Regions from separate parts of the Homo sapiens genome. Here region 2 is linked to region 1. The links are contacts of gene promoters, found by promoter capture Hi-C in blood cells and fetal thymus (Javierre and others, 2016). All regions are on one chromosome and are shown on one strand. The core of a region is centred on a gene start or on the middle of the fragment in contact, and the rest is flanking DNA. Distances in the headings are between cores, read along the strand shown. Region 1 holds the start of GSAP (gamma-secretase activating protein). Region 2 overlaps PHTF2 (putative homeodomain transcription factor 2).

Region 1 (6,270 bases), core at 2,423-4,922:
TGGGAAAGTCCTTGGAATTCCACTTGTAACTGTTAAGAAATAGGACTATATCTTCTATTTTAAAAAAATATCTAAATAAAACTGTTAGATGAAGAAAATATGTAGGGTGTCAATGTGCTTCATTTTTAGGACAGAATAAAAAACTGCTATGAAATGACTGCAAAGACATCTTTATTATAACAGCACTTGGAATTGGCAATTCAGGAATTATTCATCTTGAACATCTTATGTAGTTTTAAAAATTCTCTAGAAAAACCACAACTGTTTTCATCTTCTCTTGTATAAATCTTTAATACTATTCTTGAAATTATACTAAGAAGAACACTGAAAAGTTAGTGAACATATGTAAAGTAGATCACCTTGATTTAGGATGCCTATTTATTTTATTAGGATCACTGTGTTGTGCTGTGCACAGAGTGTGTGTTTCGGAGGACTCATATTCCTCTCCCCTCTTGCCTACTGCATCTTGGTGAGGTCTCTGCTCTGCAACAAATCAACACAGGCTTGAAACTCAGTAATCCAGTCACGAAGAGAAGGAAAGAAAACCACCTCCATTTAAAGCACCAGATAGCTAGACCAGTGCTCCCCAAACTTCGGTGTGCACAAGAATCATAATTTTGAAGATTCTGATTCTCTGCATTGCTTCACCTCTTTTCTTGCCTTGTGCTTGCATCTCTACTATAGTGTAAGCACCTTTATCTCCTCCCTTTAGCTGATTCTCTGTGGCTTGCTACTAAAACTTGTGACTCATGGCGTGGTTCAAACTTCTGGAATCAATATTTACCTCCATTTTAGATTTCTCCTCACATACCGACCTTTAGCTCTGGTATATCTTCAAAGCTAGCCATTTCATGCATTTCCTCACCTGGCCCTCTCTATGGTGGACAGTAAGGCAGCAATACAGAGGTGGAAAGCTCCTCACATTAAGTAGCAGAATGTTGCTATTCAAAATGTCATCTGTGGACCAGCAGCTTTGGCATGACCTGGAAACTCGTTAAAATGTAGACTCTTCAGCACCACCTCACCCTGCTGAATCAGAATCTACCTTTTATCAAGATCCTTAGGTGATTTGAATGCTCATTAAAGTTTGAAAATCCCTGATTTAAGATGCTTTTGGCACAAGTAACAGAAAACCCAACTCAAACTGGCTTGCATGATACGTAGAATGACTTTCAGGTGATCTAATCCAGAGGCCCTTAGGTTTTCAGGGCTTTGCAACAAACTCTTTTTGCTTATCTGAGCTGTTTCCTGTAAGCCTACTCCCTCAACATAACTTCATTTTATGTTAACAATACAAAATATAGAATGTGTTCTAATAAGTGTTCAAACACAAACCTATTATTATAGTGCTCTTTGGCCTGTGCCCTAAATTTTGAAATGATCACTCCTTAAAATTGAAACCCTTGGTTGCAAGTAAAATAAAAGTCTGACTGAATATCATTTAAACAATAGGAAATTCAACATCTCTAATATCAGAAAGGGCAGAGGATGGCTCCAAAAATAATTTACCAAGGTTTCTCTTCTCTGCAGTTCTCTGGACTCTCCTGACTCCAATGACTCCATTTTCAGTGTGCTAGATGGCTGAAATTCCAGCAATCATATCTAGATCCCGAAATAGTTAAAGACTGAAAGGGACCATCTTTTCCCATGTCTCTTGTTTTAAGAATAGAGAAATCTGTCATAGCAGAGGTTTCCTTACAACTCAGTGGCCGGAATCGGGTATCATACTCTGACAGAGATCTCTAATTGCTTCTGAATATCTACTTTCCCCACCTTCTTCAGTAATACCGTCCTGATTTTTATCTGGGCACAGCAATGGCCAGGTATATTTCCTTGCCTCCCTTGAAAGCTACATTTGGCCATGTGACTAAATTCTGGTGAGTGAAACATACGTAGAAATGTTGTGTAGAACTTCCGGGAAGTATCCTTAAAAGAGAGGTAGCATCCTCTTTTTATTCCTCTTCTTCCATTCTGATTTCTGGAATGCAGACGTGAAGGCTGAAGCTTCTGCAGCCCTCTTTGATCATGAGGACAAGGGTACACTCAGGATCAGGTGGAGCAAAGAACTGGAAGGAGCCTGGGTCCCTGATAAATTCAGGAACCTGCCCTAAGAGCTTTATTCTGCCTACGTCCAGCTAGGTGACAGAATAAAACTTGTGTGTTTAATTTACTGTTAATCTGAGTTCTTATTAACTTCTGGAGAATCTAATCCTAACTGATACACATGCCTTCATATAGCACCCTCATGATTTTGGCCACATCTTTCTATCATTATCTTATTGTTTCTCACCTTCTTTACATTGGCTTTTTCACTTAATTTGAAGAGAATTTTTTATATCATCACTGCTTGACTATAAAATCAGTCCTGCCTGGCAAAAATAGAAGTTAACTGCAAAAATAAAAACAATGGAAATGTACTGACTTTAAAAAATTGGCCAACAGTGTTTCTGTATGACAAAGGCAACAAGCTTATTTGATATGAAATAGTTGCATTAGCTCCTTGGGGGCTCCAGTGGCCTTCCTTTTATTCACTGATAATATTAGCAGCTTCATTAGGCATTTATCTTAAATTTGCATGCACTTCCCGGGTGGGAGGACTTTCCTCTGTATATGGTGGTGAGTAATGGAGTTCTACCTGAAATCATCCATTACCTCAGTTGGAGAAACATGTCTCTAGGAGGGAAAAAAATTCAAGACTTTCTTTTACATTTGGTTGGAGTAGTTTTCAAACTTAGTAAGCCTAAGAATCACCCGAGGCTCTGGGTAAAATGCACGTTTCTGGTCTTGTCCAGGTGTAGAGATCAGGAGTCTGCATTGTAAAATAGTGCCCCAGATGACGTCAATACAAGTAGTTTTCAGACCTTAATTTCGGAAGCATGTGAAAAAGCATTCTTTATTACTGTATTCACTCATTCTTCAGTAATTGTCGAGCACCTTCCAGAGTGCTCTGTTAGACCCTGGTGGGAGGCAGAGGGTTTGCGTGGAGACTTAAGATTCAGTTTTCATGTCTCAAGGCATCAAATGAGATGTACTAGAGTTAAAAGGCAAAAAGGACGCTGTTTGTATCAAGCGCATTAACCCCTTTTAGCGTTTCTCTTACAATGGGATCACCTTCGTCATACGCTCCCAGTTGCTACTCATTACCTTAATAACACTAATAAAGCACCACCACCTCGAAGCTGGGGCGAATAGGCCCAAGAGACGGCCTACTTCTGTGGTGACCCTGAACTGCTCCAGAGGACCCAGCTCTCTCAAGCCAAGTGGTTTCCACACTTTGCTGCACAGTGGAGGCACTTGTAGAATAAAGAAAATAGGCCGACCCTCCAGGTTTGGAAGCCACTGGGCTAGCGGCCTCGCCAAGGCCCTGAAGCGCCCACGTCTTTGCGCCCTCTATCCTCAGCCCCGAAGGTGCGCGCGGAGGCCTCCCGCCCCGGCGGGCCTGGTCCTGGCGCCTGGTCCACCCCGCCCCACCGCTACCCGCCGTGCCCGGCTCCGGCTCCGGCTCAGGTGCGGGCCGCCGGCCGGGAGGAGCTGGTGCCGGAGCTTCTCAGGCCAGGGCGCTGCAGAACCGAAAGCAGCAGGGGGCGGGGGAGAGGAAAGAGGGGGCGGGAGCGGGGACGCGAGGGCGAGGCGGCCACGCGGGGCCGGGAATGCCCGCGGTGCGGGGCCCCAGAGCCGCCCGGTGGTCGTGTCCGGGCGATGGCTCTTCGCCTGGTCGCCGACTTCGACCTCGGGAAGGACGTGCTCCCGTGGTTGCGGGCGCAGCGGGCAGTGTCGGAGGCCAGCGGGGCCGGAAGCGGCGGCGCAGGTGCGGGAGGCGCGCTGCGGAGAGGGGTGGGGGCGGGGAGTGGGAGTCCCTCATACCCCCCGGACTCCGACCCGGTGGGGAGCAACCCGGGGCGTCGCCGCCCTGAGAAGGCTGGTGCGAGGGCGTCGCTCCCCTCCTCAGAGGGCTGTTTTGGCTTTGCCACCCACACCCAGCCACGGCGGAAGGTCTGGGGGCAGAGCCCGGGCCAGGTCGCCGTGGGGCCTGAGGCGCCTGGCTCGCTGCCGGCCCGCGGAAATTCGCCCTTGGCAGAGGGGCCGGGCCGCTGGCGGTTCCCTCAGCATCACCTCACGGCGAGGGCAGAGGGTCGTGCTCAGCTCAGCGGCCGCATCCCACCTCCCGGGGGGTTCATCGGCAGCGCAGGGGCTTTGCCAAGACAGGAGTGCTCCTGGAAGCTTCACGTTTTGAGAAAGAATCCGTGACCACCAAGCAAACCACCCTATACCTAACGGTGGAACAGTTTGTCCCCACATTTGCGAGACGTGTTTATGTGTCTGTTGAACCGTGTCCGTGGCTCAGGGGACATGGGCCTCGGCGGTGAGGCGCAAGAGGGCAGGGGCCGCCTCCAGGCTGCGCGCGGCGGGGCGAGAGCCCCCAGCCGCCCCCGAGCTCCGCACCTGTGCAGGCTGGGGCTGCGCGCGAGATGCTCGGCTCCCGGCCCTGCCACTCCGGGCTTTTTGATGATTTGGTAAGGGAGTGAAAGTGACTTTTGAGCCTTCCCAGCACTGATCTGTTTTAAAGAAGGGGAACTTTGTGATTTCTTACAAAGTTTTAAAAGTCTTCTATAAATATTGGAGCTTCAGAGCTTAAATGCAGCTTCAAAGCAATGATGCCTGTAGGTCTCACCTTGTGTGTAGGGCGCTGTCCACTTCAGTGAATTTGGAAGTGGGTATTAAATGACCCACATCTACAACTCCTTTCCCTTAAACGCTGGTGAAAGTTTTCTTGATGTGAGTTATATATCAAGTTGCTATCTTGTATCTTCACACTCTCCTATGACTATAGCGAAATTATTTGTAGGTTTCCTTGGCTTGGAATATTATTAGCTCCAAATAAGGAGTTATATGTTTGTGTAGCGTATGCATTGAGTTTGCATTAGTGTCATGCTTAGTAAGGCTTTACTTTTTTTCGAGGTGGAGAGGGTGGTCAAGGAAGAATTTTATACAAAAATTAGCTGGGCGTGGTGACACGCTCCTGTAATCCCAGCTACTCGGGAGGCTGAGGCAGGAGAATCGCTTGAACCTGGGAGGCAGAGGTTGCAGTGAGCCGAGATCTCGCCACTGCACTCCAGCCTGGGCAACAGAGTAAGTCTCCGTCTCAAAAAAAAAAAAAAAAAAAAAAAAAAAAAAAGTCGCCCACATGTCTGAAAAGTTTTTGAAGGCTTAACTTTTTGAAATACAACAGGCAGCTCTGTCTTCTACTACCAAGTACTCCTTTTTCTGGACTCCCACTTTATTTTGCTAAATGGCAGGTGTCTGCAAATGAGAAGTTAGATGAGTGTGAAATGCCACAGTCTTATGTTTCCGTAATGTGTGTCGTGCTTGAAAAGCTGTGTGTGACCCACTGGGACCTGGCTTCCTTGTATCTTTCGCTCATCTCTGAAGAAATATAAACTTGTGTATTGACCTTCCACTAAACAACAGATAGCTCTAGGTCCTCAGAAGGTACTTTCTGGAAATACTAGCTTTTCTGATACTGGTAGTATTTTGCTCTTTCAGAGCAAATATCTTGGTAAGATATTAGCCCTGTTATACTAAGAGAATTATCACCTCTGATAATCACCAGTGGGTGGTAGCTCAAAAATACCCCCACACAAATTAATTCCTGTTCTGTAATTTATAGCAGTGGCAGGGAAATCTGGGATTCTGTCTCATTTCTAGCACAGCAGTTACAACACACATTTGTGGAAATCATTATCCTTTCAAAGTTCTGGCTTTTCAAATGTAAATTATGAATTACTATACCATTGTAATGCCTCCTCTATGCATACTTGCTTTCTGAATTTGAAGCCTTAATGTTTTTACATCAACAAATACAATTGAAGTTTTCTTAGAGGTGCTAAGTAATTCTCATGAGATATGTATGATATATTCCTGGCAAAACAGAGAGCTGGGCTGAGTCAGCCATGGAAATTCTGTGCCTGTAAGCATTTTGGTCAATAAGGGGTCAAGGAGGAAGGAGAACAGATTTGGTTACTGCATTTGCTCCTGGTTCTGGGTTGAACTTTTGAGAAAACAGTTTCTCCTGAAATAAAAGAAGATATTTGTTAAAAATCAAAACAACTACATAAAAGAATATTTTAACAGGTAGCTGTAAATGATAAAAGAAAGAAAAAAACCACCGAAGTAAAACCGTGTATCCACTACCCAGCTTAAAAACAGAGCAATGTCAAGACTCTTGAAGTCTCTTATGTGCTCCTTTCTGATTCTATTTCTTTCTCTCAT
Region 2 (6,270 bases), core at 2,328-4,827, 520 kb before region 1:
TAATCCTCAGAAAAAAAGTGTTTTCCTAAAACCAATTTAGATGTTTCCCTCTTCCCTCCAGAGTTTTTATATCATACTTCCATAATTAGGAAAATTACTCAAAAGATTAAAGGAAAATAATGACATGAAAAGAATGACACTGAATTGCAAACTAATATTTTAAAATAGTAATAGGTCACTTCTGTGAGGAAACTCATTGGTTATTTTTTTTAAATTCTTTTTTAAGTAGTGGGCTCCCTCTGCTGGCTTGTGACAACCAGGCTAGTAGAAACAAAATCCCTAATCCAGTTTTTGAATGAGTAAAAGCTGGTTACTATACATCTAGAGACAAATATATATTGATAAAGAAACTGGAACTATCAGAAAGGGCCAGCATGTTAAAGCTACTTTTATCACTCCCATTCTACCTTAAGATAGGAACGGAGAGATAGCCACATTTTTATATTCTGTACTTTCTTCAACCGGAAATGAGGAACCTCAGATTTTCGAGCCCTCCTTGCAGATGTTAAATGTCCAAAGAGTTTTGCAAAAAGTAATCGCTAAAAAAGATTAAGATGAGGATTAATTTTCAAGTAGATTACCACAGAAAAACAAAATTAACAAAATATGAATTGTTAAGATTTTATTTGGTTAGGTACTATAAAAGCAAAATAAAAAATAATTAGGTAAAAATGATATAATGAAATAATAAAGTACTTCAGGAATACTTTTAATATTATGAAAACGATAAAATATTCTTATTCGGAAGTCTACATTATACCCACCTGTTTATAAGTTCTTTCTGCTACACAGAGCAAAAAAAAGAAAATCCACACAAGAGACACGCGAACCACAAAACTTATTATAACCATAGAAAGAACTATGACATCTTCATTAGAACCAAATGCAATCACATAAAGTTCTGAAGCAGAATGTGCTGTGAGTTGTTCCAAGTCTGTAGCTTGAGAAAGTCGGAAAACAAATGGAGTTAAACCCAGTATGAGAGAGACTGCATTTCCAAAAATCTGGTATCCTATTCCTGGTATATGGCTGTTCACCTTGAGGGAGCCAGGGGAAGAGAGAGAAAAGAAAAATAAAATTATACCATAAATTTTATCTACAGTAGAATTATTTATAGCAATATGAAATCATTTGTTAAAATATACTCATTCTGAGTAATTTGAATCCCATTCAAGTTTGAGAGCCTACTACATATAAAATGTCATTAATTCTTCAGATCTTAAAAACAATTATCAGATCGCTAATTTACTAAGTAGATGGCAAAAGGACTGTCATCCAGATCTTGAAAAAAATTTATGTATTTCATTATTTCAAGTTAGAAATATTCATAAATACTGCAATATTAAAGAGAATGAGATCTCATATCCACTGAAATTCAGTTCATTGAAGAAAAAACTCAGCATTACACTTATTTCATACGTTTGTACATTTGTAACTTGAGGTTTTCTTTCTGTTTTCTTTTTTTTTTTTTTTTTTTGAGACAGGGTCTCACTCTATTGCCCAGGCTGGAGTACAGTGGCACAATAATGGGCTCAAGTGATCCCTCCCAACTCAGCATTCCTAGTAGCTGGGACTACAGGTATACACCACCGCCCCCAGCTAATTTTTTGGGTTTTGTAGAGATGTAAAGACAGGGTTTCACTATGTTGCTCAGGCTGGTCTTTAACTCCTGGGCTCAAGCGATCATCCCTCCTCTAGCTCCCAAAGTGTTGAGATTACAGGCATAAGCCAACACACCCAGCCGCTTACATTTCTCTTTGAATAGTCCAATATATAAATAAGTGTCTCCTTAAACTCTAAAAGCATTTTAGAAGAGAGATGATAGAAGGAAGAAGAAATTAAACAGAAAGGGAAAAAGGTGAGGGAATTATTTTAAAAAAGGAAATTAGATAATGGGACAATATAAAAGCTTCCAGTATGCTAGACTGGCAGAACTAAAAGAGATCTTAACTATCATGTAGCCAACTTTTTATAATATATATTAGATAAATGAGACCATTGTAAGTTAAGTGATCTGCCAATTCACAGGTAATTAAGTTACAGAGCACAAACTAGATCCAAGATTCCAGAGACTTCCCCGTCAACTGCTTTTAATTGCTCACACTGAGATATGTTATAGGGAGTATTATCAATTTCTAGACCCAGTTATTATAATTCCTGTCTTACACAAAGTGTGGAGAAGAGTTCAAGCACAATAATGCACCAAAGAAATTTAGAAATTGCAAGTTAAAAACAAGTCCAGAGAAATCAACACATTTTATTTTATTTTATTTTTATTTATTTATTTTTTGAGACGGAGTCTCGCTCTGTCGCCCAGGCTGGAGTGCAGTGGCGTGATCTTGGCTCACTGCAAGCTCCGCCTCCCAGGTTAATGCCATTCTCCTGCCTCAGCCTCCCGAGTAGCTGGGACTACAGGCGCCCGCCACCACGCCCGGCTAATTTTTTGTATTTTTAGTAGAGACAGGGTTTCACCACGCCTGGCTAATTTTTTTGTATTTTTAGTAGAGACGGGGTTTCACCATGTTAGCCAGGATGGTCTCGATCTCCTGACCTTGTGATCCGCCCGCCTCAGCCTCCCAAAGTGCTGGGATTACAGGCGTGAGCCACCGCGCCCGGCCAATCAACACATTTTAAAAATCAGTAATTATCTGAAAAAAGAAATAATAGAAAATAAAATTTTAATCCACAGTATTTCAATTAGACTTCTTTGAACTACTCAAGACTTTTACCACTATCTGCATTACTTCTATATATTTAAGTAGGTAAGCAAGTATGAATGCAAATTTACTAGTTTGATTTTTTCATGTCTTAAGTCCTATTAAACAAATGAACCAGTAAGAATGATACAGAAAAATAAGTCTTTTTAATTATTTTTTTATTTTTAAAGTTCTTGTAACAACAATCTCTAGTCCAAAGAAAAGTCTTTATTAACACCTGTATATATCTAACAAGCTCCTGAATTTCAAAAGAAAGAAAAAGATAAAAGAGAAAAATTATAGACCGTATCATCTATTCTTGGTCAGATAAGTGAAAACACTAGAAGATGAGAGTGGTTTGGTGACAAATCACTGTTTAAATTACAGACAGAAACAAATACACACATGTAACTTTTTTTTCAGGGTGAAGAAATGAGGTCAGAAGGTTACTAATATAATATTCCAGTAATTATCTTATATATAATTACTAAGTCTTACCCTTGAACTACAAGAATAAAATTTAAAAACTCACTCTGTTCATTATCATTCCACTGATTTCAAGTACAGACATGTCTGCTTTCTTACAATCATTACCTTCCCATACTATAGCACTTATTTTTTCTAATCCTGGGTGGGAACTATGGAGCCAGGGCAAATGACTCTATAAAAAAAAAAAAAATTAGTAAATATATAGATCACATTTAATAAATAAAATGTGTGTATATAAAGTTGTATATATATCTCTATATACACACACAATTTTAATGACACTAAAAATAAAAATTGGTGAATATATTTATCATGTTTTATAAATGGAATATATAGATCTGTGCACAGCTAATATATTTATACACACAACTCTAAGACACTAAAATTCTATCTTAAAATTAGTTAGCATATACACTGAACAGATATCATAAGAAGTTACATGGTTATGAAACTGTACAAGTTGAGAACTTTCTGTAACAAGTATTAGTCAACCTATGTTCAAAAATATACTAAAACATGTCAGCAAAAGTACTTAGTTGTCAGTCTACACAGCTGCAATATACTAATGCTAAAAGACAAATGGATATCAACTTGTTCATAGTAATCATTGTCCAACTTATGATCATTAAAAAAGAATATGACAGCTGAGATTTGAATCTCTTTGAAAGACCATATAGTGCTAGTCTTATCCCAAAAAAGACTCTTCCTTACATATTTAACGTTTAATATCTGATTTAGTTACTTTTCTGATATTTTAATCCAGCATTTCTCCAAAGGACCCATTTAACTTTTTTTTTTTTTCCAGATAAAGCAAATATTACAAAACTGAAGCACTCAGCCTCCTGAGTAGCTCGGACTACAGGCACCTGCCACCATGCCTGGCTAATTTTTTTATTTTTAGTAGAGACGGGGTTTCACCATGTTGGCCAGGCTGGTCTCTAACTCCTGACCTCAGGTGATCCACCGGCCTCTACCTCCCAAAGTGCTGGGATTACAGGTGTGAACCACTGCGCCCAGCCCCAAAACAGAACAGTTGAGTTAATGATGGCAACAAAATTAATGAAACACTAAACCTTTATATAATCAGACTTCAAGAGGAGAAGTAACACTAAAAGATTAAACCCAGATAGAGATCAGTTTGCTTGTTTATATTGCAGTATTTCTAGTGTATTTTTAAGGACTCATATACTTCCCACATTTTGTTTTTTGAGACGGAGTCTTGCTCTGTTACTCAGGCTGGAGTGCAATGGTGCGATCTCAGCTCACTGCAACCTCCGCCTCCCAGGTTCAAGTGATTCTCCTGCCTCAGCCTCCCAAGTAGCTGGGACTATAGGCGCCCACCACCACGCCCAGCTAATCTTTAAATTTTTGTAGAGACGGGGTTTCACCATGTTGACCAGGTTGGTCTCGAACTCCTGAACTTGTGATCTGCCCACCTAAGCCTCCCAAAGTGCTGGGATTACAGGCGTGAGCCACGGTGTCTGGCCACTTCCCACATTTTCTAAAAACAATAGTTTTGGCATTCGTAGCAACCTCAAATTTTATAAAATATTTCATTAAATATAACTTCTAACAATGAACAGAAGAATCTACTCTAGGTACATTTATTCTTTAGAGGACAAAAATGTGATTAAAATATGGTAAAAAAAATGTTTCTTGTAAACTTTTAACACTTTCCTCTAGGGGGAGTAAAGTTGCATTGATTAATTTCAACTAAAGTTGAATAATAATAATTCAATAATGTAAAAAAAAAGAGGTGGGAAATTTTTATCTTTTCTAGAGATGAAGGATTTTAATATACTTTAACTTTCATGGTATACATTTCACTACTTGAGGTCCTGAAGAGTGCTAAGATACTAGTTATTAACTACCAACTTAATTTCTCAAATGTTATTTCCTCATTTATCTCCAAACAAAATATTCTGTTTTGGGAAAGAAATAATCTGTACCAAAATATGTATCAAACTTTCACTAGAAATTTTACAATTGTTAAGCGTAAGGAAACCAAAAAGCCAGAAACAGGAAGTGCAAGAAGCTAAAAGGAAAGAAGTTTAAGCTTGAGAGCCAACAGATTTCAACCACTGATTTACAGACATTTTTAAACTCTCAGTCTGGAATAGTGAATTAAGGTCTTCCTAATTACATGAAGAAAGGAATATCAATACCAAGAAAGCCCATCTAGAGACAGAAATAGGAAATCAGGACATTCTCATTGTCCTCCCAAAAGCACTCCTTTTACATCTAGCTACCTTGCCAATTACTCTATCCAGCATCTGATATTACATTATTTCTAGAATGCCAAAAGGCAAAAGAGAAGACAGCAACTAGAAACTGGTGAATTTTAAAAGAGTTAATTACGCCGGGCGCGGTGGCTCACGCCTGTAATCCCAGCACTTTGGGAGGCTGAGGTGGGCGGATCACGAGGTCAGGAGATAGTAGCCATCCTGGCTAACACGGTGAAACCCCGTCTCTACTAAAAATACAAAAAGAAATCAGCCAGGCATGGTGGCTGGTGCCTGTAGTCCCAGGTACTGGGGAGGCTGAGGCAAGAGAATGGCGTGAACCCGGGAGGCAGAGCTTGAAGTGAGCCGAGATCGCGCCACTGCACTCCAGCCTGGGCGACAGAGTGGGACTCCGTCTGAAAAAAAAAAAAAAAAAAAAAAAAAAGGGTAAATTACATGTTCAATGTTGTGTGTAGAAACTTGAAAAAATAAATAAAAAAGACTGCTATATTCCTCTGTGTGTGTGTGTGGGGGGGGGGAATGTACACTGAAAAACAGTCTTGTTGAATCATGTCTGCAGTGTGGAGAACAGCATCACATGAAATTTTTTTTAAAAGGTTCAGGGAAAACATCAGAGCAAATAATTTCATTTTATAATTTTATCACATAGGTTACTCTAAATACATTTTCTTTTTTCTTTTTTTTTTTGAGACTGTGTTGGGCTCCACTGCCCAGGCTGGAGTGTGGTTCTTGGCTAACTGAAACCTTCGCCTCCCGGGTTCAAGCAATGCTCATGCCTCAGCCTCCTGAGCAGCTGGGATTACAGGTGCCTGCCACCGTGCCCACCACCATGCCCGACTAAT

The links. The method cuts DNA at HindIII sites, captures the fragments that hold promoters and counts their contacts. A CHiCAGO score of 5 or more calls a contact.
Region 2: a fragment that was not itself captured here is called in contact with the fragment with the promoter of GSAP in region 1 in 1 of 17 cell types (total B cells); the score reaches 5.3 in total B cells.

Annotation. Positions count from the first base shown.
Region 1 is chr7:77,413,751-77,420,020 of GRCh38, reverse strand. GSAP (gamma-secretase activating protein) reads left to right here and starts at 3,672. Exons shown (of 31, transcript NM_017439.4): 1 at 3,672-3,808. The coding sequence starts at 3,700. LOC101927243 (a long non-coding RNA gene) reads right to left here and starts at 4,823. Exons shown (of 5, transcript NR_110073.1): 1 at 4,673-4,823. RefSeq lists silencers at 3,377-3,726, 3,947-4,156, 4,217-4,506. The HindIII fragment of the contact is 1,753 bases long and covers 2,471-4,223 here.
Region 2 is chr7:77,934,797-77,941,066 of GRCh38, reverse strand. It overlaps PHTF2 (putative homeodomain transcription factor 2), which reads right to left. Exons shown (of 19, transcript NM_001395272.1): 12 at 3,229-3,357; 13 at 765-1,037; 14 at 408-539. Among named protein-coding and RNA genes, the nearest start is that of DDX3ILA1, 52 kb to the left of the region's middle. The HindIII fragment of the contact is 3,332 bases long and covers 1,912-5,243 here.